Linked DNA regions of Homo sapiens: region 1 is linked to region 2. The links are contacts of gene promoters, found by promoter capture Hi-C in human tissues and cell types (Jung and others, 2019). All regions are on one chromosome and are shown on one strand. The core of a region is centred on a gene start or on the middle of the fragment in contact, and the rest is flanking DNA. Distances in the headings are between cores, read along the strand shown. Region 1 overlaps RBM14-RBM4 (RBM14-RBM4 readthrough). Region 2 holds the start of NPAS4 (neuronal PAS domain protein 4).

The links. Contacts are between HindIII fragments. The study calls those that stand out against the background at their distance.
Region 1: a contact is called between a fragment that was not itself captured here and the fragment with the promoter of NPAS4 in region 2, in 1 of the 25 tissues and cell types used here (liver).

The regions. Positions count from the first base shown.
Region 1 is chr11:66,631,441-66,634,140 of GRCh38, forward strand. The region is part of intron 1 of RBM14-RBM4 (RBM14-RBM4 readthrough); the gene reads left to right. Among named protein-coding and RNA genes, the nearest start is that of RBM4, 5.9 kb to the right of the region's middle. The HindIII fragment of the contact is 7,143 bases long and covers 1-2,700 here.
Region 2 is chr11:66,419,728-66,422,427 of GRCh38, forward strand. NPAS4 (neuronal PAS domain protein 4) reads left to right here and starts at 1,308. Exons shown (of 8, transcript NM_178864.4): 1 at 1,308-1,627; 2 at 2,393-2,544. The coding sequence starts at 1,453. RefSeq lists an enhancer at 1,354-1,950 and silencers at 1,883-2,197, 1,891-2,185. The HindIII fragment of the contact is 8,655 bases long and covers 1-2,700 here.

The DNA.
Region 1 (2,700 bases), core at 81-2,580, 210 kb after region 2:
CCTCGCCTGGCTAATTTTTGTATTTTTGGTAGAGATGGGGTTTCACCGTGTTAGCCAGGATGGTCTCGATCTCCTGACCTCGTGATCTGCCCGCCTTGGCCTCCCAAAGTGCTTGGATTACAGGCGTGAGCCACTACGCCTGGCCAACATTAGCTATTTCTAAACCTATTTTGGAAATATGGGAGTTGAGGCTGTTGGTTAAGTGACTATTCTTTTTTTTTTTTTTGATGGAGTCTCGTGTCACCCAGGGAGGAGTGCAGTGGTGCGATCTTGGCTCACTGCAACCTCCTGGGTTCAAGCAATTCTGCCTCAGCCTCCTGAGTAGCTGGGACTACAGGGATGCACCACTACACCCAGCTAATTTTTCTATTTTTAGTAGAGATGGGGTTTTACCATATTGGCCAGGCTGGTCTCGAACTCCTGACCTCAAATGATCCTCCCACTCGGCCTCTCAGAGTGCTGGGATTACGGGTGTGAGCCACCATGCCTGGCCATTCTTAAGATCAAATGGCTACAAAGTTGGTGGCTCAAGGAACTGAACCAGACATTGGAACCATCTAGGGCTTTGTTTATAATCGTTATGCTATACGGCTGTTGGGAGAGTCAAATGAGGACATGTGACACGTGTATGTAGTCACTTCTCATGAAATGTTAGCCATCTCATATAAATGAGTTAGAACATTCTGGGGACACTGGGATGGCCTAGTAGAGCAGCACACAGCTGATCCAAAGATTTTGGATATAGGTGTGAGTGCAGCACATACTTCTAGTAGTGAAGGCAGTGAATATTTGTAATTAGCGATACCTAGAAGTGATTTGGCTACTGTACCACATCAATTTTGGCCACCTCCAGTCTCTGGCAATACTATTTTGTGTCCTGGGAGCAATTCTTGTGGATATGGAGAATAAAGGTTATTGATAGTGTAGGGGATTTTCAAAGACATTAAGGAAGGCTAAGAGGTTGCATTGGCTGTAGGATTGGAGGCCTAGGAAGCCTTCTGCCTGATGCCCATTGAACATCCCTGGAGAATGCTGGATTTTTAGTTTGCACCCTTAGCAGAACTGTAACTCATTTCTGGACCAGGAGCCAGAGTTATTTATTAGATGTATAAGTTATATTAAGATGTTTAAGTTACATATTTGTCCTTGAGCCTGTAAAACTCAGATTGGACTGGGCATGGTGGCTTACGCCTGTAATCCCAGCACTTTGGGAGGCTGAGGCAGGCAGATCACCTGAGGTCAGGAGTTCAAGACCAGCCTGGCCAACATGGTGAAACCCCGTCTGTACTAAAAATACAAAAAATCAGCCAGGCGTGGTGGCGTGTGCCTGTAATCCCAGCTACTCGGGAGGCTGAGGCATAAGAATCGCTTGAACCTGGGAGGCAGAGGTTGCAGTGAGCCAAGACTGAGCCACTGTACGGCTGCCTGGGCGGCAGAGTGAGACTCCGTCTCAAAAAAAGAAAAAAAAAAACTCATATAGTTTGCATTTTTATGTCTAAGTAGTTTTCACTGTCACCAGTGTTTAACCCTAAGTTTGTATCTGTCCCTCATTTCCGAGAGTCTCATCTCTTATTTCTCAGTTATATTTCTGTATACACTGCCCTTTTTATTGAAGATTGGCAGCCAGATTACATATTTATTCTTGGCTCTGAAAAAATGTCAGCTTTCTAGATGACTGGACAAGTCACTTTACCTCTGAGGAGCTTGGTAGCCTAGTCAGCAAATTAAGAATCACCAAAATAGCATCTACCGTGTTCCAGACAAGGTGCTTTTATTTACTTATTTTAATTTTTTCAGATGGTCTCTCTGGTTCCTGAGGCTGGATGGAGTGCAGTGGCATGATCTTGGCTCACTGCAGCCTCTGCCTCCTGAGCTCAGGTGATTCTCCCACCTCAGCCTCCCAAGTGGCTGGAACTACAGGTGTGCACCACCACACCCAGCTAATTTTTTTGTATTTTTAGTAGAGACAGGGTTTCTCCATGTTGCCCAGGCTGGCCTCGAACTCCACCTGCCTTGACCTCCCAAAGTGCCGGGATTGAAGGCATGAGACACTGTGCCCGACCAACAAGGTGGTTTTAAAACATCCCTTTTGCCAGGTATGGTGGCTCACGCCTGTAATTCCAGCACTTTGGGAGGCTGAGGCGGGTGGATCACCAGAGGTCTGGAGTTTGACACCAGCCTGGCCAACGTGGCAAAACCCCTCTTCTACTAAATGTACAAAATTAGCCAGGCGTGGTGGCGCATGCCTGTAATTTCAGCTACTTAGGAGGCTGAGGCAGGAGAATCCCTTGAATCCCGGAGGTGGAGGTTTTCTGTGAGCCGAGATAGTGCCATTGCACTCCAGCCTGGGCAACAAGTGCAAAACTCCTTCTCAGATAAATAAATAAATAAAACATCTCTTTTGATGTCATTCTCTGTAGTTGAGCTGGTAAGGCAGAGGATTTGGATCAGATCTCTTTAATTGGCCTTTATTTATTTATTTATTTTTTGAGACAGAGTTTTGCTCTTGTTGCCCAGGCTGGAGTGTAGTGGTGCGATCTCGGCTCACTGCAACTTACGCCTCCTGAGTTCAAGTGATTCTCCTGCCTCAGACTCCCTAGTAGCTGGGATTACAGGCATGCGCCACCACGCCCGGCTAATTTTGTATTTTTTTTTTTTTTTTTTTAGTAGAGATGAGGTTCCTCCATGTTGGTCAGGCTG
Region 2 (2,700 bases), core at 58-2,557:
GATATGAAAAGGATAGAAAAGGATATGAAAGGACAGAAAAAGAAACGAAGGTGGAAAGTGGAGAGCTGAAGGTGGAGAGGCAGAGCCAGGAGCCTTAGAGGCGCAAATGTGGAGAGGGGTGGAGGGAACCTGGCAAAAATACAGGGTCCCTGGTAGGTGCAGGGGTCATGGAGGGTCCGGCGCTGCCCCTTCGCTTCTCAGCTGCTCCCCCATCTTGCCCGCCTAGGCAGGGCGGGGAGCCCTCCGGAGCGGTGCGGAGGCAGCCAGGCCCCGCCCGCCGCAGCCGCGGCAGCCGCCGGAGGATTCCTGTCCTAATATGGAGCTGGGATTCCCCCGGCCCCGCCCCCGCCCCCGGCCCGCGGGGAGACAGAGGCTGGCAGCAGGGCGGGGGGAAGCGCTCGCTTGGGGGCCGGCAACGGGGGGAAGGGATGCCTAAGTGCAGACCCAGGTCCTCGCCGTGCCCCCACGTCCCTGCCTCAGTTTCCCCTTCAGTAAGGTTAATTAGCTGAGAGGGAAACCACGAATCACTGCAGACTACAGCGCTGATGTTGGTTTCTATTCTTGGCTGTGGGAAAACAGGATCAACGCCAAATTCAGCTGGTCCCTTTCCCACCGGACTCCCTTTCCACCCATCCTCGGGACTTAGACCCCCATGAACACCCCCTGATAAGCCGCCAAGGCCCGATTTGGGAAGCGGGGGCGGGAATTTGTTCTCTAAAAATGGCCAAGGGAATCCCAGGTTAAATAGTCCCCAGAGAGGAACCCCAGCAGTGACCTGTCCCACGGAGGCCAAGGAAAGTCCTCCTTCCCTGCATGTGAACGTGACCTTGTCTGTCAAGTAACGAGGGGGATTTGTAGACAACCCTGTTCTTCCCCATTCCCTCAACTCCTCAGAAAAATTAGTGTCAGTGCCGGCCCCTCTCTGCCCTCTGCGGACTCCTGCCGCGGGCTTCAGGCCGCCCTAAACCTGGCCCTGTCGCTTCCCTCAACTGAACGCATTCAGACGCCAGGGTCCCCACACTCCATTCAAGCTTTCCTAACGCAGCGCCTTCCTCTCCGCTCAGCTCCCGCCAGGCTTGGCCCCCTCCGCAGCCTCCTGCTCCCCCCTCGCCCGCCTCCCTCCCTCTCTCATTCTACGTCATGAGATGACGTCGGAAGCCGGGCGGGAGGAGGAGCCCCCCTCCCCAGTCAGCGGCTCCCGCTGCAGCTTGCTTAGCCCAGCCTCCCGCTCTCCCGCCCCCCCGGCTCTAAAACGAGCCCCCCACGCCTGGCAGGAGCTATATAAGGCGGCGTGAGGCAGGCGAGGGGGGCAGCGCAGCCGAGCGGAGCCCAGGAGAGCAGAGAGCGAGCCTGAGCGAGAGACGGGGAAGCACGGAGGAGGAAGCCGCCGGTGCGTCGGGACGGGAGCGCAGGTGCTCGGGCACCCGAGCTGGAGCTCCGCAGCCGCCGGTCATGTACCGCTCCACCAAGGGCGCCTCCAAGGCGCGCCGGGACCAGATCAACGCCGAGATCCGGAACCTCAAGGAGCTGCTGCCGCTGGCCGAAGCGGACAAGGTCCGGCTGTCCTACCTGCACATCATGAGCCTCGCCTGCATCTACACTCGCAAGGGCGTCTTCTTCGCTGGTGGTGAGCATGCTGGGGCTACCGCAGATCCGAGCTGCCAGGCGCCGGAGACCCTGGAGCTGAGGGAACCCGCTGGGGCTGTCGCATGTCTAGGGCAGCGTGCTGGCGAGCTGGGGAGATTCGGGACTCGGGAGATTCGGGACTTTCTACTTTTCCTCCTGAGCTCCCTCCAGACCTCACCTTAGTTCTGAATGAGAGTTAGAGAGCCTGGACGGTGTCCCTAACACCAGATTATGAGAGGATAAGAGCCAGGACAGAGCGGCCTCGGTGCCCGCCAGTGCAGAAGCGCTCCGGGAGCCGGGGAGGGAAGCCCGGGAAGTTGCAGGGATGGAGCTGCCTGAGCCTAGGGGAACATAGCTACTGTCCGCGGTGCTGAAAGGGATCTCCTGTCGCCTTCGGGGCGCTGCCCATGGTGCTGACGGCTGCGCCGGCCGTGTATGGCTCTGTCCATGGTTCTGAACCCACAGTCGGCTTCGGAGCTCTGTCCGCGGTTCTGAAATTCAGAGCCGCTTTGGAGCTCTGTCCGCGGTTCTGAAATTAAGAGCCGAGAGGAGCCGACCCCGCTTTAGAAGTCGAGGGCTTGTGGGCTATGGAGATACAGCAACAGGTTCCCTGGCCAAGAGCTGCGGGCAGCGGGTCAACAGGTGTTTGCAGAGGCAGGTCCATGAGAAATTCCTCTGGATTCTCTGAAACTCAGACCATGCCTTCCTCACTTCTTCTCTGCCTCCCAGTCTTACTCCTGACGCACTACGTCTTCTCGCCCTACAGGCACTCCTCTGGCGGGCCCCACGGGGCTTCTCTCAGCTCAAGAGCTTGAGGACATCGTAGCGGCACTACCCGGCTTTCTGCTTGTGTTCACAGCCGAGGGGAAATTGCTCTACCTGTCTGAGAGTGTGAGCGAGCATCTGGGCCACTCCATGGTGAGTGCTAAGGGTCCTTTCAGCTGAGGCTGGGCATGGAGTGGGTGCCGTGAGCCTTCCACTCCTGAGGAACTGGGAATTACTATGGAGGGAGAGGTTATACCCTACAAGATACTGTAGATCAAAGATTGGCTCCTGCTGTTCTCCCTAATGGTC